4 separate regions of the Homo sapiens genome follow, and regions 1, 2 and 3 are each linked to region 4. The links are contacts of gene promoters, found by promoter capture Hi-C in human tissues and cell types (Jung and others, 2019). All regions are on one chromosome and are shown on one strand. The core of a region is centred on a gene start or on the middle of the fragment in contact, and the rest is flanking DNA. Distances in the headings are between cores, read along the strand shown. Region 1 holds the start of GGA3 (golgi associated, gamma adaptin ear containing, ARF binding protein 3). Region 2 holds the start of GRB2 (growth factor receptor bound protein 2). Region 3 overlaps GRB2 (growth factor receptor bound protein 2). Region 4 holds the start of RECQL5 (RecQ like helicase 5).

Evidence for each region. The method cuts DNA at HindIII sites, captures the fragments that hold promoters and counts their contacts. A contact is called where the count stands out against the background at its distance.
Region 1: the fragment with the promoter of GGA3 here is called in contact with the fragment with the promoter of RECQL5 in region 4 in 1 of the 25 tissues and cell types used here (aorta).
Region 2: the fragment with the promoter of GRB2 here is called in contact with the fragment with the promoter of RECQL5 in region 4 in 2 of the 25 tissues and cell types used here (dorsolateral prefrontal cortex and pancreas).
Region 3: a contact is called between a fragment that was not itself captured here and the fragment with the promoter of RECQL5 in region 4, in 1 of the 25 tissues and cell types used here (psoas muscle).

The regions. Positions count from the first base shown.
Region 1 is chr17:75,258,950-75,263,983 of GRCh38, forward strand. GGA3 (golgi associated, gamma adaptin ear containing, ARF binding protein 3) reads right to left here and starts at 2,657. Exons shown (of 17, transcript NM_138619.4): 1 at 2,599-2,657. The coding sequence starts at 2,638. It overlaps MRPS7 (mitochondrial ribosomal protein S7), which reads left to right and starts at 2,930. Exons shown (of 5, transcript NM_015971.4): 1 at 2,930-3,034; 2 at 3,548-3,739; 3 at 3,855-3,918; 4 at 4,391-4,558. The coding sequence starts at 2,952. RefSeq lists enhancers at 2,063-2,162, 2,633-3,042, 2,839-3,716. The HindIII fragment of the contact is 1,153 bases long and covers 1,527-2,679 here.
Region 2 is chr17:75,402,615-75,407,468 of GRCh38, forward strand. It overlaps GRB2 (growth factor receptor bound protein 2), which reads right to left and starts at 3,064. Exons shown (of 6, transcript NM_002086.5): 1 at 2,875-3,064. It overlaps MIR3678 (microRNA 3678), which reads left to right and starts at 3,455; the gene lies at 3,455-3,548. RefSeq lists a silencer at 3,122-3,301. The HindIII fragment of the contact is 9,537 bases long and covers 1-4,854 here.
Region 3 is chr17:75,325,310-75,330,607 of GRCh38, forward strand. GRB2 (growth factor receptor bound protein 2) reads right to left here. Exons shown (of 6, transcript NM_002086.5): 4 at 589-711. Among named protein-coding and RNA genes, the nearest start is that of SLC25A19, 39 kb to the left of the region's middle. RefSeq lists an enhancer at 1,570-2,070. The HindIII fragment of the contact is 7,256 bases long and covers 1-4,953 here.
Region 4 is chr17:75,664,578-75,669,471 of GRCh38, forward strand. It overlaps RECQL5 (RecQ like helicase 5), which reads right to left and starts at 2,577. Exons shown (of 20, transcript NM_004259.7): 1 at 2,467-2,577; 2 at 1,851-1,994; 3 at 474-595. The coding sequence starts at 1,980. SAP30BP (SAP30 binding protein) reads left to right here and starts at 2,761. Exons shown (of 11, transcript NM_013260.8): 1 at 2,761-2,901; 2 at 3,939-4,048. The coding sequence starts at 2,796. RefSeq lists enhancers at 1,702-2,901, 2,483-2,582, 2,753-3,002. The HindIII fragment of the contact is 12,020 bases long and covers 1-4,894 here.

The sequences.
Region 1 (5,034 bases), core at 1,407-3,906, 410 kb before region 4:
ATCTTTTTTTTTTTTTTTTTTGGAGACGGAGTCTCGCTCTGTCACCGAGGCTGGAGTGCAGTGGCACAATCCCAGCTCACTGCAAGCTCCACCTCTCGGGTTCACACCATTCTCCTGCCTCAGCCTCCCGTGTAGCTGGGACTACAGGCGCCCGCCACTACGCCTGGCTATTTTTTTGTATTTTTTAGTAGAGACGGGGTTTCACTGTGTTAGCCAGGATGGTCTCGATCTCCTGACCTCGTGATCCACCCGCCTCGGCCTCCCAACGTGCTGGGATTACAGGAGAGTTCTTCATCCACTCCAGCATCACCTCCATCCAACTAAAGGCAAAATCTTCTTAAACTTCCTAACTCCTATAACACCCCACGTAGCAGGTACTCATTAAACATTGATTGATTGATCATGGTGGGACTTGAAAGAAGACTGAAGTCATCAAGAGATGGTTTGTGAGAAAAGAGAATCTGAGATGGGTTTTCAAGCATTTAGTTGAGGAAACGGGAGCAGGGCTTCCAGGTAAGGAGAGCAACGTGTATTGGTAAACCAAGAACATCAGACTGAGTAGAGCAGGAAAACGTAGAAGCCACAGAGAAAAAGGCCTGGAACAACCAAGGCCAGATTACAGGCAACAGTGGAATGATTTGATTCAACACAAGTGCGCTTCTGGGAGCAGAATGGACTGAGGAGAGGTGAGGACGGGAGAGACCTGGGTCTCTGGGCCAAGCAGAGGCTTCTGCAACAATTCAGGCAAACGTGGGGTGACAAGGACGCTGACTGAGACGATGCTGAACCCCAACTGCTGGTTTGTTCAACTGGTACAGTTCACATTAAGTCGTAACAACTGTGAAGCTTATGTCTCTACAGATACCATGTGACTCCCCCCCACCAAGTGTGTCCCTCTCATTTCATAATGTGACTCTAGGCTGGGTGCGGTAGCTCACGTGTGTAATCCCAGCGCTTTGTAAGGGAAAGGTGGGAGGATCACTTGAACTCGAGTTTGAGACCATCCTGGGCAACACAGCAAGACCTCATCTCTACTAAAAATCAAAAGAATTAGCCAAGCATGGTGGCGTGTGCCTATAGTCCCAGCTACTCAGGAGGCTGAGGTAGAAGACTTATTTGAGCACAGGGGTTCAAGGCTGCAGTGAGCTATGATCGCACCCCTGCACTCCAGCCTAGACAACAGCGCGCGAGACTCTGTCTCAAAAACAAGTAACAAAAACAAAATGTAACTCTAAATGTAGCCTATTAAACTCAGCTTAGGTCATTTAAATTATTCAATACCCATATTAATACCTTCAAAGCAAACTAATTCCACTCTGGTTATAGCAAGTTGGGCATTTCTGGGCAAGTGGTTTGACTGGAGTCAGGATGTCCTCTTTTTGTGAAATTATGGCAGTAGTGCCTGCTTTGCTAGAATACTTGGTAAACTAATTTAATGAATATCTGTAAAGTACTTTGAGCTCCTTGGAGAACACTTCCATATATAAAGAAGCCTTATGACCTGCCTGCAACTGCAGATTTTGCAAACGTGATCTTACTTTTTCTCTCTTTTGGGATATGCTCCCCTTTAAACTGAAGCTCAACCTCCTGAAGGGGGTTTCTTACTAGGAAAAATCAGACAATTTGAGGAAATAGCTATCACCTCCAAGATCCCGGAAGCAGTACTAAATAAGAGACCTCAGAACAAGGCAATACTAGGTATCTCACCTATCCCATTACCAGTCCAATTTCTCTCTCCACTTAAAGGAGGCTTCCAGGTCTAGCCTACAGGAAAGTTCACTTATTAACCCTCAGGCAGAGTACTACCTGCTAACCAGGTTAACACACATTTCCTTCGTAGCACTGTAATTCACAGTGCAATGACAGCAATACGCTTCTATAACTACAGCTTCAGACTGTGCTCCTCAGCCTTACTCAGAATAGGCTATCAACACTGACTCGTTAGGATATTCAAGGGGGTATATGTATGTGTGTGGGGGGGGAATTCCCGACACCGATTTCACCATGCTTCTGTGGTCACTGCAGGAAAAAGGTAGAGCTCTCTGTTCTCTATCATCGCTCTCTTTGGAATATTATTCTCACTTCAAGCATTCTGCCTGAGCGAAGCCGTCACTTCTCCAACACATGGTCACAATTCTGAAGCTGCCAGGCGACTGAACGCAGTCGGCAGCACCCACCACTACCGGAGACTCAGCCCCAATCCGAAGCTTCTCCCTTAGTCAGGGATTGGGGCGCTGGGTTCCTGGTGTCACCGCCGGGCGGCGACCCCACCACAATCTCCCCAAAGCGCCGAAGCATGTCAGCCCGAAGATCTTGGCTGTCGCCTTTCCCCGAGCCTGCGGTGCCCGACAGGAGCCCGAGTTCACGCCGCCGCGCGCCAGAGCAAGAGGACGCGCCGCAGCGAGGGAAGCGGGGGCCGGACTGGGGCCCGGCGCCCTGATAGGGAAGGGGCGTGATCGCAGGCTGCTCGCGGCGAGGGCGAGACCGGGCGTGGGCTGCCAAGAGGCGACGCCGTGGAGCCCGGGGAGGGGACGTGGGGGTGAAGACAGGGGCAGCCCAGCGGCTCGAGGGCAGGCAGAAACGGCCGCGGCTACTCACTGAGCCAGGACTCCAGGCTTTCCCCTTCCGCCTCCGCCATATTGCAGCCGCCCGGCCCCGCGGCTTCAAAACTCGCGAGAGTCTGCACGAGCTGAGACGGGGCGGGGCCTGCATGGGGTCCTGAGAGGAGTGAGTGCCGTCACCGAGGGCCGCGCCAGACTGCGACGGATACAGGGAGGGCAAGGGTTTCCTTTTGGCGCTCCCCTTTGGACCCCGGAGTGAAAAACTCTAACGTCCAGATCAGTGGAGAGAAACGCAGATTTAGGACCCTGAGGAGTCTTTTTCACCCGTTTCCCGTCACTCGCTCAGGCGCGCCGAGGGCAGTCCTTGTGGGGTCCTCGTGGCCAGCCAAGATGGCTGCCCCCGCAGTGAAGGTTGCCCGAGGATGGTCGGGCCTGGCGTTGGGCGTGCGGCGGGCTGTCTTGCAGCTTCCAGGGTGAGAGGGTGGCGAGCAGCGGCGGGGGGGCGCTGCGAGGAAGGAAGGGGGCCACAGGCAGGCCGCGTGGGCCCCTAGAGAGAGCATTGCCCTGGGGGCCGGAGTATCTGGATTCAAGCTTCTAAGTTAGCTGCGTGACCCTGCGCCAATCCGAAGGTTTAGTGACTACCTCTCGCCTAAGGAGTCTGGCTGATCTAGGGTTCTAACGCGGAGCTGAAAGTGCGGTTCAGCTAAAGAGCTCAGATCTGGGATCGCCTGTGAATTGGGATGGGTGTGTAGGCGCCAAGCCCATCCTTACCGTTAGCACTTGACCAGGAGGAGACTTTACCCGCCTGCTTGGGGAATGTCCTCCTACTTGGGACAAGGGCCTGAATTGTTGTGGCTCAGGTTTAGCTCGCGGTCTCCGCGCCGCTCCCCCTCGTCGGCGCGTTGGCAGTCATGCCTATTGTTAAGTCAAACCTACTCGCTTGTGGAGTCAGCTTTTGCCTGCCTCCTCCTTTCCCCCCCTCCCAGGCTAACTCAGGTGAGATGGAGCCGCTATAGTCCTGAATTCAAGGATCCCTTGATTGACAAGGAATATTATCGCAAGCCAGTGGAGGAGCTAACTGAGGAGGAGAAATATGTTCGGGAGCTCAAGAAGACTCAGCTCATCAAAGCTGCTCCAGCAGGGAAAACAAGTTCTGTGTTTGAAGACCCAGTCATCAGGTTAGATGGAAACAAACACTTGTTACATGGACTGGGACTATCCCAGGGAGGGTTTCTGGTGAGGATTCTGTGATACAGCCTTGGAGAGCTAAACGTGTTGCTTTTCTCTTTGAAGTAAATTCACCAACATGATGATGATAGGAGGAAACAAAGTACTGGCCAGATCCCTCATGATTCAGGTAAACAGCACTTCCCTCCTCAGTCATCTTTCTTGCCCCCCTACCCCGTAGCCTTGTACTTGGTACTTTCAGTGTAGCTTAAGAGCAAATGGATTCATGTATCTATTATTCAGATTAACTTCCCTGCATGTGTACGGGCTTTAATGAAGCCCTGTAAGAGTCAGCAACTGCCATTCCTTGGTGTTTCGGAAGTAAACACACAATTAAAAAAAAAGGAACAAATAAAAAATAAAACAACTGCCATTCCCCACCTCACCCCCCACCCCCTCCATGCCACAAATCTCAATCCACTCTTTCTGTCCTAGTCTAGCAAAGGGGGAGGCACTTAAAAACTTTGTTTTGGATGTGCTGTGAGAGGAGCTGCATTGCCAGCGCAGAACCAGAGGATGGGAGTAAAGGGCAAGGTACTAGCTTGGCTGGGTAAACCCTTTAGGGAGCCTGGGGCAGCCTCTTCCACCATATTCTTTTGCAGACTCTGGAAGCTGTGAAAAGGAAGCAGTTTGAGAAGTACCATGCCGCTTCTGCAGAGGAACAGGCAACCATCGAACGCAACCCCTACACCATCTTCCATCAAGCACTGAAAAACTGTGAGCCTATGATTGGGCTGGTACCCATCCTCAAGGGAGGCCGTTTCTACCAGGTGAATGAATGGCCAGGGCAAGAAAGCAGGGCCCTCCACATGTGAAACAAGATAGGTGGTGCTTGGGAGTTGGGTCAAGATTGATAGCTTTCTAGCTGGTGCAGTGGGATTGCACCTGTAATCTCAGCACTTTGGGAGCCTAATGCAGGATAGCTTGAGCTCAGGAGTTAAGAGACAGCAGGGCAACATAGGGAGATCCCGTCTCTACAAAAAAAACAAAAAAATTAGCCAGGTGTGGTGGTGTGCATCTGTGCTCCCAACTACTCAGGAGGCTGAGGTAGGAGGATCACTTGAGTCCAGGAGGTCAAGGCTGCAGTGAGTTATGATTACGCCCCTGCATTCCAGCCTGGGCAAGAGAGAGAAACCTTGTCTCAGAAAAAAAAAAAAAAAAAACGGCTGGGCACGGTGGCTCACACCTGTAATCCCAGCACTTTGGGAGGCCGAGGTGGATGGATTACCTGAGGTGGGGAGTTCGA
Region 2 (4,854 bases), core at 1,814-4,313, 260 kb before region 4:
GTGGGGTACATCCTGGAGTTCTACCAGAACCTAATTTTAAAAAGATCTCCCAGTGATTTTTATGGATACTAAATTTTAAATAACTGCTATACCATAAGGATGCCTTAACCAGATTTTAAAATTTGCATTCCAGATAATGCACTACAATGTCCTTGCATGAAATGAAAATAATGCATATTGGCCGGGCGCGGTGGCTCACGCCTGTAATCCCAGCACTTTGGGAGGCTGAGGTGAGTGGATCACCTGAAGTCGGGAGTTCCAGACCAGCCTGACCAACATGGAGAAACCCTGTCTCTACTAAAAATACACAATTAGCCAGGCGTGGTGGTGCATGCCTGTGATCCCAGCTACTAGCGAGGCTGAGGCAGAAGAATTGCCCGAACCCAGGAGGTGGAAGTTGTGGTGACCTGAGATCGTGCCACTGCACTCTAGCCTGGGCAACAAGAGCGAGAATCTGTCTCAAAAAAAAAAAAAAAGGAAAAAGAAAATAATGCGTATTCACTTGGCACAACTAGGAAAAAGGCAACTTTGACCAAAAAAAATATATATATATATAAATATATATATATATACAGACTCTCAAAAGCCATTCAGTAATGGTGGAGAGTTCCTCTGAATTAAGCAAGTATTAATTTCTCTCCGGAGGGCATGGTGACTCTCTATTCTGTATTACTTCATTTCTCCAAAATCCATTCCTCTTCTGTTGTATGTGTAACAATTAGAACTCTGATGGACAACATGCAACATGATAACAGCAATTACTGAGAAGAATCTCTAAGTACCATCAACCAGTAGTATTTAAAACCCAGCAAGCCTCTCAAATCTGAATAACTTGCTGACGAAGTAAAGTGCCTCAAACATTTAAACGTTTGAGTTCAGGCCGGGCGCAGTGGCTCATGTCTGTAATCCCAAGGCTGAGATGGGCAGATCACTTGAGGTCAGGAATTCGAGACCAGCCTGGCCAACATGGTGAAACTCTGTCTTTACAAAAATACAAAAATTAGCCAGGTGTGGTGGTGAGCACCTGTAATCCCAGCTACTCGGGAGTGCGAGGCAGGAGAATCGCTTAAACCCAGGAGGTGGAAGCTGCAGTGAGCCGAGATCGCACCACTGCACTCCAGCCTGGGCGACAGAGCGAGACTCCGTCTCAAAAAAATAAAATAAATAAATAAATGCTTGTGTTTAGTAGAAGAAAGCTGATTATAAGAATTAACTCTGGCCGGGCGCGGTGGCTCACGCCTGTAATCCCAACACTTTGGGAGGCCAAGGCGGGTGGATTACCTGAGGTCAAGAGTTCAAGACCAACCTGGGCAACACAGTGAAACCCCATCTCTACTAAAAATACAAAATTCGCTGGACATGGTGGTGGGCGCCTGTGATCCCAGCTACTCGGGAGGCTGAGGCAGGAGAATCGCTTGAACCCAGGAGGCAGAGTTGCAGTGAGCCCATATAGCACCATTGCACTCCAGCCTGGGCAAAAAGAGCAAAACTCTGCCTAAAAAAAAAAAGTCACTGAGCTGACCCAATCTTCCTATTATAAAGACATACTAGAAGAAAACATAAGCAGGCACAGAAGCATAATCTTAAAAGAAAAAGAGTAAAAGACAAAAATAATACAAGCAAACCACACTTGCGACCTAGTGGCAGGACTGATTTCTTAGGGATGAATTCAATCTTTTGAGCCTCCCCGTTCTCAGAGAGGGGACTTCAGCCTCCCACGGCTCTCTAGCAACCCTTCTGGCTGACTGCAGGGAACGCAGGGGACGCGCAAAAGTAAAGGAACGAAAGCAAGGAAAGAGAGTCTCTTCCCGAGGAAAAAGACGGAATCTTGAAATGAGAGAAAACGAACAGCACGAAAGGGAAGAAACCTCGAAAAATTACGCCAGAGTGGGGACTACAAGGAGGAAGGGGAAGTACATTAGAAAAAAAGGGGGGGGTGGGGGGAGGAAGGGGCAAATGACTTGCATTACACAAGCATTTCGTGTCCCTAGTGGAAAGGACAGAAGCAGATAGAGAAGGAAGGAAATAACTGGAGAAAGAGGAGTAAGAAAGCCAAAATAGACTAATGCTAATTTCTCTCATGTGTCTGACATTTCGGAAAGTCAACAGCATCAAAAAGAGACAGACCTCAAGTGCACTTCAGTCCCCTGCAAACTGCACTTTCACAGCGTTTGAAGCCAGCCTTGAAAAACTTTCTAAACAAGCCATAACTCATGTGTGGCTTACAATCATAGAGAGGGCGCGCTGCAAATGAAAATTACCAGCGCCCGCTCTCGCCGCAATCCTTCCTCGGTGCAGTCCAACCTGCTACTGCTGAATTTTTCTTGACAAATATTTTTCAAATAGTTTTTTTTTTTAAGTGTCAGAATAAAGGTATCTCCCCCGGCTCCAGCAGCAAACGTTCCACCCCAAAGTGGATTCCCGCACAAAATTAAGCCCAAAGACGCCAGGAGATGGTGACGTGGTTGCCGTGCAGGTCGAAGGCACATCAATCACCACAGCTGCAGCCCACACCAGTCCCCCGCCGCCAGGCTCGGGTAGACTGACTCGGTCGGCGTTCGGCCCGCCTGGGCTTCCCGGGCCCCTTCCGTGCAAACCCTCCCGATGAAGGCAGGGGACCTCGCCAGAGAACCCCGACCTCTTCCCCCGGACTGCCCAGAGCCAAGAGCCGGAGGAGGACGGTCCCCAGGAAGGAAGCGCCCCAAAAGGGGAAACGTAGAGTCCGGAGCCCCGGGGATTGCGCTCCACGTCCCAAGCCTCGCCGCCCCGACGCGAACCCCGGGGCCGGTCCCGGTTCCCCCGGGGCCCACTCCCGCTGTAGAGCCAAGAGGAAAAGGCACGAGAGAGGCGCCGAGCGCAGCCTCCCGTACTCACCGTGGCGCAGCTGCTCCGCTCAGCGTCCGGCCCGCCCCTCCACAACGCTGCGAGCGGCCGGCGACCCCAAGGCTGCTCTGCGAGGGCAGCGCTTGCTCCCGCCGCCGTCACCGCCACAGGCACAGACTCTGCCACAGCCGCCGCCGCCGCTGCCGCCGCCCGGTCGCCGAAGCAGCAATACCTCCTGGCTTCCGCTCCCCGTCGGTGTCCCGCGAGAACTTCTCCACGAGGCCCCGCCCCGCCCCCGCGAGACTTCCCCCGGCGGAAAAGGCCCAGAGCGCAAGCGCTCCTCCTCAGCCGGGCCCCTGCGGGTAGGGAACCAGCTAGGTGTCAGGGCGCATGCGCCAGACCTCCCCGCAGCAGGTGGCCTCCGCACGGCTCCGCCCCCGGGTCGCCGTAACCCTCTCGGTGCCAGAGCGGGTAAATGACAGCTTAGCCCTGAAGGACTCTTCCCCCGTCTAATCACTTTATTTTCCTCTTCTACCAAACCTAGGCAGTTGGATGGGTAGGGGCTTGGGGGAGGAAGAGATCTTCCAGAATGAAGCACTCCAAATAGAGGACCAGGTCTTAAAATATTTGAGAATCCGGTCCGTACAAACTCTGCTGTGTTGAATGATTGGTGAGTTTGTTTGCTCATTGATTGAATCACTGCAGAGTTTGTACGGACCGGATTCTCCAATATAGGCCGAACACTGTGCTGGGGATAGAACAGAAATCTTGGCCCTTAAGGAATTCACGGTCTAGGAAGTAGAAGAAAAATAAACAAATAATGCCATAAGTACTGTTATAATTATTTGGAGTTTGCTGAGGAAGCTAAAAAAATGGAGGGGGTACTGCTACACTGCCCATTGCAGAAGAGCCTTCACAGATGTGATGCGGCGATGTCTGATCTGAGTCTTGGAGGATGAGTAGGAATTTGCCAGGCAGAGAAGCCAGAGTAAGGGCATTTCAGGGAAAGGGAATGGCACGTAAGTACAGAGGCTAAGTACAGAGGAACGGAGGCGTGAGAGAGAAAGTCGTGTTCTGTGCAGTGCTAAGTAGTTCAATTCCTGTATGAGGCCGGTGAGTACGGGGGAGTGGCAGAAGATGAGGCTTGGAGAAATAATTCTTATTTTTCAGTTCCCAAAGCTCTTCCAATTAAAGGATAGAACACAACACACCTAGCGTTACTGTGCCTTCTGGAAGCCAACAAAATAGCGCTGAGGTGAGAATAACCAAGCATCTGATTCTATAGAGAAAAGAAGCCCATTGAAACACAGAAAATGAATTGTGCTTTCACCAAGTATTTATTGAGCATCACCTGTGTGCAAGGGGCTCTGCAGGGTCAAAGACCAACCAGATGAAGCCCCTGCTTTCAGTGCTTTGTAATCTAGAGTTGCCTAATCTGTAAGACAAGCAGTTGGCCCCAAGTGCCACTGAACTACACATAGGGATGGCTGAGGAGGGAGCCAGTACTTGGTGCTGAGCTAATCAAGAAGGATTTGGTTTGAACGGCAAAGTGAAAGCAGGGAGGAAAGAGGAAAGAGTAATGGAATCAGCCTTTTGTTTTTTTTTTTTTTTTTTTTTTTTGAGACGGAGTTTTGCTCTTGTTGCCCAGGCTGGAGTGCAATGGTGCGCGATCTTGGCTCACCGCAAGCTCCGCCTCCCGGGTTCAAGGGATTCTCCTGCCTCAGCCTCCCGAGTAGCTGGGATTACAGGCATGTGCCACCACACCCAGCTAATTTTGTATTTCTAGTAGAGATGGGGTTTCTCCATGTTGGTCAGGCTGGTCTCAAACTCCTGACCTCAGGTGATCCGCCCACCTTGGCCTCCCAAAGTGCTGGGATTACAGGCGTGAGCCACCATGCCTGTTTTTTTGGTTTTTTTTTTTTTTTTGAGACTTGCACTGTTGCCCAGGCTGGAGTGGAGTGCAGTGGCATGATTTTGGCTCACTGCAACTTCCGCCTCCTGGGTTCAAGCATTCTCTCACCTCAGCCTCTC
Region 3 (5,298 bases), core at 76-2,575, 340 kb before region 4:
ACTTCACAGCTGAGGTGTGAATTGTTTAGAATCTTCAAGTGCTGGTTTCTATTCTCCACACTCTCCATGGCGGCAGAACTTCCTGTCTTCTCCATTCCCTGCTTACCCGCTCCCTTTCACACCTGAACTTTCCACCGGGGAAATGCAAGCCCCACATCCCCTGCAGCAGCCTTCTTAAGTGACTGTGAGGGCCTAGGATGGGGCTGGTTGATTTAAGTCAGTGGACCTGAGCAAGGCAAGCCAAGGCAGCCGACAGGCGCTCCACTATCCCATTAGAGAGAGCTGCGGGAATCCCTTGGAGGGCAGAAGCTCAGGAGTGCTGGGCACTAGGGAAAACTGGCAGGCTCCAGCTGGCTGCAGGGAGCTGCTGCTCACCTCCTGAAGGCTGTGTCCACATGGGAATCTACATCCAGTGCTTCTAGAACTCATTTTGAGAGGAGCCAGAAATTAGGATTTTAATGTGAAATGAAGAAACTGTTTAGGCTAAGCCTCCACCATTTTGTGTGTAGCCAGGCACCTGACCAACGGCTTCACAATTTGGATCAGTCAGAGACAGGATTCCAGGCAACTGCAGCAGGAAATACTTACTTGACAGAGAGGGAGAAGTCCCCAGGAGCGCTCTCACTCTCTCGGATAAGAAAGGCCCCATCGTGCCGCTGTTTGCTAAGCATTTCTTCTGCCTTGGCTCTGGGGATTTTGCCAAAAAACCACCTAAGGAAGGAAGGCAAGCTGGTCAACATCTGCTTCCCCACAAAGAAACGGGATATCCAGCCTTCAAAATGTGAGTAACACAACACTCCTTGCCAGAGGAAGGGGCCTCCCTCCTCATCCTCCAGCCTCACAGTGCCCAAGATCGACACTGGGTTGGGTCCCCAGAGATGGACCTTCAAAGGTCTTTAGCCTACTCCATTTCCCAGAAAGCGACTCACCAAGGCACTAACCGTGGGTCACTCTTTCTATAGAGGGAGACATTTGAAAATGGGCCCCCCAGGCCAAAGCCCACTGGACTCCCTACTGACTCATGACAAAGGCGCCTGGGGAAAAGCTCAGGCCTTTGGGCTTGGTGTACGGGATGAACTGCCAAGGAGAGACTGGCCCCTTCCTGCAGCCATGTGATAAGATCACAGCTTCACCACAGTGGGACTAAGGGAAAGTGGGGAGGAAACCTGGACGGCCAGGAGCTGGAGGCAGGGTTACTTTTGCTAACAGCCCAAAGGCAAAAGGTTCAGATAGTATGAGGGTGCCTCTACCAGTAACTAAGGTCAGCATTCCTCTCAAGGCCTGCCTCTGGGGCCACTGCTCAGAGTTCAGCTTTCAGAAGCCACCAGGAATATTGTAATTTACCATATGCTCAGCAGCTAGCTGCAAAATTCAGATTTTTGAGGCAAGTTGCAGACTCTTCTGCTCCCAATTGCTGATTCACCTTGGCCAGAAGAAAAAGTGGCTAAATTCATGAAAAACTGTGAAGCAACTGGCTGTGGCTTATCAAGAGGAAGAGGAGAGGAACACTTCTACAAGAGCTTCAAGTCAAGCTGCCTCACTATTTCAAATGAAAACTATAATTAGGAAGAAGAAACTGTGAAAACCATGTTCTCTTCTCAAAATTGTCTTTAGTTATCATTTTTAAAAGCAAAAGTTATAGCAAATAAAGACCTATAAACATGGAAACTGGCATTCATTTAATATGCTAATTATAATATCAAAAGTCCTTTTAATGGACCAAATAGTCCATTAAAGTTGTAAATCTAACTTACATATCTTTTCTTTTTTTTTTTTTTTGAGGAGTCTAGCTCTGTCACCCAGGCTGGAGTGCAGTGGCACGATCTCGCTCACTGCAAGCTCTGCCTCCCGGGTTCACGCCATTCTCCTGCCTCAGCCTCCCAAGTAGCTGAGCAGCTGGGACTATACATAGGCGCCCGCCACCATGCCCGGCTAATATTTTGTATTTTTAGTAAAGATGGGGTTTCACCGTGTTAGCCAGGATGGTCTCGATCTCCTGACCTTGTTGATCCGCCTGCCTTGGCCTCCCAAAGTGCTGGGATTACAGGCATGAGCCACTACGCCCGGCCCTTTTTTTTTTAGATAGAGTCTCACTCTGTCATCAAGGCTGGAGTGCAGTGGCACGATCTCGGCTCACTGCAACCTTCGCCTCCTGGGTTCAAGCAATTCTCCTGCCTCAGCTTCCCTAGTAGCTGGGATTACAGGCGGCCACCACCACGCCCAGCTAATTTTTGTATTTTTAATAGAGACGGGGTTTCACCATATTGGCCAGGCTGGTCTTGAACTCCCGACCTCGAGATCTGCCCGCCTCAGCCTCCCAAAGTGCTGGGATTAAAGTCGCGAGCCACCACGCCCGGCTAATTTACATATCTTACTTATAAGCAACCATATTGGAAGATGTACCTAAAATAATATACTATACTCAAATTCAAACAGAAAGATGTGATCTGCTAGGAAGGATACACTTAGAAGCTGCCCTTAGTAACTTTGTCCTTGTGTGTGTGTGTCAGCCTCTAGGGACTCTTAGTAACTCTGAATAGTCTGACATCTACCTGCTTGGAGTCTTTCTCATTTTGCATACTCTACTGCCAGGATGCTGAGGAGCTGGGACAATAGATCCTCCTGCTTCTACAAATAACTCAAGGCTAGGGCCTGCAGTGCCTGGAAATCAGGCCACACAAGAGAAATCACATATCACTAGAATAGAATGCTCTCTAAATATAAAAGGACAGGCTGGGCCCGGTACCTCATGCCTGTAATTGCAGCACTTTGGGAGGCTGAGGTGGGGTGAATCACTTGAGGTCAGGAGTTTGAGACCAGCCTGGCCAACGTGGTGAAACCCACTCTCTACCAAAAATACAAAAATTAGATGGGCACAGTGGTGGGCACCTGTAATCCCAGCTACTCGGGAGGCTGAGGCAGGAGAATCACTTGAACCTGGGAGGCAGAGGTTGTAGTGAGCCGAGACTGTGCCACCGCACTCCAGCCTGGGCGAAAGAGTGAGACTCTGTCTCAAAAAAATATATAAATAAATAAAATAAAAAAGGAGGCTGGGTGCGGTGGCTCAATGCCTGTAATCGCAGCACTTTGGGAGGCCGAGGTGGGCGGATCATCTGAGGTCAGGAGTTCGAGACCAGCCTGGCCAACATGGAGAAACTCCATCTCTACTAAAAATACAAAATTAGCAAGGCGCGGTGGCGCATGCCTGTAATCCCAGCTACTCGGGAGGCTGAGGCAGGAGAATCGCTTGAATCTCCGGGAGGCAGAGGTTGCGGTGAGCCGAGATCGTGCCATTGCACTCCAGCCTGGGCAACAAGAGTGAAACTCCATCTCAAAAAAATTAAATAGGCCGGGTGTGGTGGCTCACGCCTGTAATCCCAGCACTTTGGGAGGCCGAGGCGGGCGGGTCACAAAGTCAGGAGATCGAGACCAACCTGGCTAACACGGTGAAACCCTGTCTTTACTAAAAATACAAAAAATTAGCCAGGCGTGGTGGCAGGTGCCTGTAGTCCCAGTTACTCAGGAGGCTGAGGCAGGAGAATGGAGTGAACCTGGGAGGCGGAGCTTGCAGTGAGCCGAGATCGCGCCACTGCACTCTAGCCTGGGCGACAAAGCGAGACTCGCTTTCAAAAAATAAATAAATAAATAAATAAATAAATAAATAAGGACACTTAACGGTATTGAGACCTTCTCAATCGGGGGGCCCCAATCAACGGTATTTAAACCTTCTCATATCGGGGGGCCCTGGGTTTCTAATATAAGTGTATGCAGCATGCATCTGACTGGGTACAGCAGTGAAAATCCACACATGGCCTCGGCTGGCTCTCCCCACACTGCCCCACACTCCCCACCACTGCCACTTCCAATAGCAATGGTGAGGGTGAAGATTCTCAATCAGCAAGGCTCTCTTTCCTCCTAGGCCCCCAAGATCTCTCCACTAGGGAGGTTTTTTCCCATTTGTAGGTATAAAATAATGAATATAAACTGAAATAGCCTAGATGTACATGAAGCAAACATAAAAAGTAAGATGCTTCCCTCAAACTCCCCAGAGGCAGCACGTGTTGGCGGTTCTAACACTTAGGTTTCCAGACCTTTCTGTCTGGTGTCACATAGACATGGCTGCTGTGTTTTCTTGCCCCCAGCTTAAAATTAACGCAATTTTATTTTCAATTAAAAAAAATAAATTGTAGTGAAGTACAAATTATAATGTTTAAAAAGTACTCTAACTGGAATTAAAACCAAAAACCAAAAAAACCACAACTCTGTTATAAGCACCCAGATCAAGAAATAAAAAATCTGGCACCAGGTGCAGTTGCTCACGCCTGTTAATTCCAGCACTTTGGGAGGCTAAGGTGGGAGGATTGCTTAAGCCCAGTAGATCAAGACCAGCCCGGGCAACACAGTGAGACCCTGTCTCTACGAAAAATAAAAAATTAGCCAGGCATAGTGGTGCACAGCTGTAGACGCAGCAACTTAGGAGACTAAGGTGGGAGGATAACTTGAGCCCAACCTGGATGACAGAGCAAGACCCTGTGAATAGCTGTCACTACTAAAACACTGAAATACCACCATTCTACATTTCTATAGCATTTTATATCATTTATAAATTTGACTTTTTAAAATGATGATATGTACATGTGACTACATGCTTACGGGTGAATTTTTTTTATTTTTTATTTTTTGAGACAGAGTCTTGCTTTGTTGAATAGGCTGGAGTGCAGTGGCGTGATCTTGGCTTGCTGCAAGCTCTAACAGGCAAATGTTTTGAAAGTCTTTAAAAAGATGGGCTTTGGGCCGGGTGTGGTGGCTCACACCTGTAATCCCAGCACTTTGGGAGGCCGAGGCGGGCGGATCAGGAGGTCAGGAGATTGAGACCATCCTGACCAACACAGTGAAACCCCATCTCTACTAAAAATACAAAAATTAGCCAGGCATGGTGGCACATGCCTGTAATCCCAGCTACTCAGGAGGTGGAGGCAGGAGAATCCCTTGAACCAGGGAGTTGGGGGTTGCAGTGAGCCGAGATCGCGCCACAGCACTCTAGCCTGGCGACAGAGCGAGACTCCATCTCAAACAAACAAACAAACAAACAAACAAAAGATGGGCTTTGGCAGGGTGCGGTGGCTTACACCTGTAATCCCAGCACTTTAGGCCAAGAGCTCGAGATCAGCTTGGCCAACACAGTGAAACCCCATCTCTACTAAAAATACAACAATTCGACGGGAGTGGAGGCACGCGCCTGTAGTCCCAGCTACTCGGCAGGCTGAGGCACAAGAATCGCTTGAACCCAGCAGGCGG
Region 4 (4,894 bases), core at 1,327-3,826:
CAGAAACCCAATATAGCGAATGAGATAGGCAAATCATAGAAAATAAGAGGCAGGGGCGGGTGTGGTGGCTCACACCTGTAATCCCAGCACTTTGGGAGGCCGAGGTGGGCGGATCATTTGAGGTCAGGAGTTTGAGACCAGCCTGGCCAACATGGTGAAACCTCATCTCTACTAAAAATACAAAAATTAGCCGGGTATGGTGGCATACACCTGTAATCCCAGCTATATGGGGGGCTGAGGCACAAGAATTGCTGGAAGCCGGGAGGTGGAGGCTGCAGTGAGCCAAGATCGCACCACCGCACTTCAGCCTAGGCGACAGAGTAAGACTCTGTCTCAAAAAAAAAAAAAAAAAAGGAAAAAGAAAAAGAAAAGAAAATAAGAGGCAAAAGACCAATAGAGAAGTGAAATTTCCAGCCTCAAAAAACCTTCCCCGAATCTTTTTGGGCTACCATCTTCATTGCCCTAAGCCTCACCTGAATCAAAGCAATGAGAGGAGAGACTACAATGGTGATGCCTTTGGCCAACAGAGCAGGGAGCTGATAGCATAGGGATTTTCCTGCCCCTGTGGGCATGCACACAAAGACGTCCTTGTTACCTGAAAAAATACAAGACAACAATATCTCAGTGCTTCCTGCCTTTTCATTGAAGTTGTTGAAAATTAAATGAGAATGTAGGAAAAGCACCTAGCAGAGTGTCTGGCACATGGGAGGGTCTCGATGTAATCCTAATTCCCCTCCTGTCCTTTCTATGAAAAAGGCAAGGATCCTGGGAAACTTGGATACATGCCCAAACCATTTCTAGTAATGGTTAAAAACAAGATTTAAAAAGTCTGGGTCAAGCGCAGTGGCTCACGCCTGTAATCCCAGCACTTTGGGAGGCTAAGGCAGGCAGATCACGAGGGCAAGAGTTTGAGACCAGCCTGGCCAACATGGTGAAACTCTGTCTCTACTAAGAATACAAAAATTACCCAGGCATGGTGGCACGTGCCTGTAATCCCAGCTACTCAGGAGGCTGAAGCAGGAGAATTGCTTGAACCCAGGAGGCGGAGGTTGCAGTGAGCCGAGATCGCGCCACTGCACTCCAGTGTGGGCGACAGAGCAAGACTCTGTTTCAAAAAAAAAAAAAAAAAAAAAGAAGTCTGAGTCTGCTGTGATATGGATGATTGAACTAAACAGCCATGAAAGCAGAGTACTGCTAGATGAGTGGGTACATCTGTGTAGACATGAGAGGACATTACTTAGAGGGCTTTTGTTTAGACATGTATCATTAATATTACATTGCTGCTCGCCTCTTGGCAACTTCCATTTGTCACCGTATCTCAGGTTTATAACATTATTACTCTTTCCTTCTCTATCTGGGACCAAGGCCACTCAACCTGCAACAAGGGAATTACCTAGGAGGCCAGTGACCGAGTTAAGTTATTCCTACCACCCTCACTGTTGCTGTTCGTTTGTGTGTACAAACGAACAATAATGAGAATCTGAAGTGTTTTCAAAGACCATGTGTAAATCTAGCTATGAAATATAGACCAGCTGGGTGGTTCTGCCACTAAAACTACAAGCTTTGGGCCGGGCGTGGTGGCTCATGCTTGTAATCCCAGCACCTTGGGAGGCCGAGGTGGGAGGATTGCCTGAGCCCAGGATTTGGAGACCAGCCTGAGCAACATGCCAAGACCCCATCTCTAATTAAAACAAATAAACGAAACTACAAGCTTTGACAACTCTAAAGATTTCCAAATCCAGTTATGGACCAAAGGTGAGGCAGTACGAAGGGTGAGGAGGAGGGTGTTCTGCCGCAGCGTTATGGTATAGCCAGCATAAATTTAAAGGAAGGTAGCTTGGTAATGTTACCTTTTACTACAGCCATGGTCGCACTCTCCTGTAAAGGCGTCTTAAAAGAGTCAAACCCAAAGACCTTCTTCAGCGTACTCCGGACTCGCCGCTCAGGGTCAAAAGGAAAGGTGGTATGGTGGCTGCTCATCTTAGCCAAGAACAGTGGCCAAAGGTTAAGGCAAAGGTAGTAAAAGGTTGCCACGAGAACCCTCTGTTTTGCATTAAAAATACAGATTATTTTTCTGTAACAATTTGCTATATTACACTTAAATAATGTATTATTTTTAAGTAATAAAGCTGAAGGTGAACTGCCTCAAGCAATACATTCCTCAGTAATTAACATCTCCACTTTTACGCTCAATGAAAATGAAAACATTGAACTATTCCAGGCCACGGTATAGCACAGAGCTAGAAATCAGATCAAGAGAAGAAACATAAATGTCTTCAGAACAGCTTGGAGAACGGGGAACCGTTTTCCTAAGATCCACCACCTGCTCCTACTTCTATAAGCGCAACCACGACGACCGTTCTTCCACCCCGGGACCCCGAACCCCTTCTCCCGTCTTCCTGAGCCCAAGATCCGCAATTTTCTCTCTTGGCTGGCCGACACCTCCCTCTCTTCACCCTAAGATATCAGAACCGGCCGTGGTCCGCCCAAGAATTAAAGGCTGCTGGCTGGTTCCGGAACTGTTCGAAGACCCCTATACACAACCCCAACTCAGAGAAGCCAAAGCGCTGGGAATTCAGCTTTAGGCAGAACCCACGCAATCTTATATCCGTCGCGCAGTGATGACGTAGCGCGAGCGCTGGCATGAGGGCGGAGCCAGGCGCAGGAAACTGCCGTTTTGATTGGTTTCCAGTGTGGCGCGGGGGTCTCCTGGGATCCGAAAGAACCTGCCTTTCCGCCCGGAAGTCGGCGTCTTGAGTCATAGGAGTGAGCCACGCCCGGGCTGTGGGAATAAGATGGCGGGGAAGAAGAATGTTCTGTCGTCTCTCGCAGTTTACGCGGAAGATTCAGAGCCCGAGTCTGATGGCGAGGCTGGAATCGAGGCGGTGGGCAGCGCGGCTGGTAAGGCCCAAGTGCGAAGCTGGAAGGGGGAATCGGGTGTCTGCCCGGAATGCTGTACCCTCGCTGGGCGGGAGGGAACAAGATGGTCATTGTGCTCCAAGCACCGGACCCCGAAGAATGGTCCAGGGTCCGGGGTGAGATAGAGCATTAGAGACTGTGGACTAAGAATGAAGAATCTCCTTCCCGTTATTTCGATTAATTTGCCTAAACTTACTGAAAGACTCCGTGCCGGCTATAGTGATAGACAGAGGGATGGACGAAGAGGGAGCGGCTGCTCAGCCACTGCCTGTTTCCCCTGGGCTCGTTGTTTGATGAGGGAGAGCGATAAGTAAAACATACGTGGAAGATGGTAAAGATTGTGTTCGTTAACTTTATAACTTTTAGTTAGGAATGTGCCCTAAACACATCTTGGAGCTTTTAAAAACAAACGTATCTGATGCCCAAAGTGAGAGAACCTAATTCGGTAGAACTGGGGTAGGATGTGGGCATTTGTGAACTTTTTAAGGATCCCAGGTGATTTTTCTTATTTTGTGAGTTTTTAAAGCCTAACGGTGATGTTCTCCTCCTCAGGTTGAGAAGCACAATGTTAGATAATGGAAACAGATTCCTTTGGGAGAATAAAGAACAAGTTACCTAACAACATATCAGGACCTTAGCTTCCTCATCTGGAAAGTGAAGGGGATTGGATTAGGTTAGGTACTTCCATGTTTTGTGATTTTGTGTGGTCTCTTCCAGTCAGAAAGTTCTCTGATGGTTTCCTATAAACACTTTAGTGTTTATCTAGTGTTTATAGCATTAGAAACAGAATTTAGTACTCGGTTTTGTTCCCTGACCTTTTAATGATTTTATTCAGTAAATGCTGGCCTTCTCAGAGAGCCGAATCTGGGCCTATTGTAACTTAACATGAGATTTAGGTTCCCTTTGTATCTTCAGAGATAGTCTTGGCCACTCAAATCTCTGGACATTTTTTCTTACATTGTAACTCTTGTTTTTTTTTTCTTGCTTTTTGTTTGTTTGTTTGTTTTTTAACCTTTCAGAGGAGAAAGGCGGATTGGTATCTGATGCCTATGGGGAGGATGACTTTTCTCGTCTAGGGGGTGATGAAGATGGTTATGAAGAAGAAGAAGATGAGAACAGTAGACAGTCGGTAGGTAAATCTCCCAGATCCAGAGCTACTGAAAGCACAATTTCATTTGTCAGATTTTGGAACTGTGCCAACAGTGTTCCATTTCATGGTTAGCTCCATCCCTTGCTCTCCCGTTTTGTTTTAGTATTAGTGGAAGAAACTGGATTGGATATCAGATCTGTTTGAAAATGTATTTTCACATGGATCATTTTTTATTAATCTTTGAATTGAAATTTGGGGGAAAAGATAGTGGATTATTTTATTTAACCCAGATATCAATGGGTGTTTTATGTTGATTTTTCCCTGTTTAAATGATTTACTCCATTTATAGCAGGCATTCATCCTAACTGGTGTATCATTTATATCTACAGTCAACTCTGCATTATTTTTAATCTTGGTTGGGGCTCATTTAAGTCTTCTCAGTTTATTAACAAGATAAGAAAGGAAAATTCGTTTTCACCTGCTTTTTCTTTTCTTTTTTTTTTTTGAGATAGGGTCTCACTCTGCTGTCCAGATTGGAGTGCAGTGGTGTGATCATAGATAGTTCACTACAGTCTTGAACTCCTGGGCGCAAGTGATCCTCCCACCTCAGCCTACCCAGTAGCTGGGACTACAGGTGGGCGCCACCATGCCTAGCTAACCTATTATTATTTTTTTTTGTCGGAATCTTGCTCTGTCGCCCATGCTGGAGTGCAGTGGTGCGATCTCTGCTCACTGCAACCTCCACCTCCCAGGTTCAAGCAATTCTCCTGCCCTCAGCCTCCTGAGTAGCTGGGATTACAGACACCTGCCATCACGCCTGGCTAATTTTTGTATTTTTCACAGAGACGGTTTCACCATGTTGGCCATTCTGGTCTCTAACTCCTG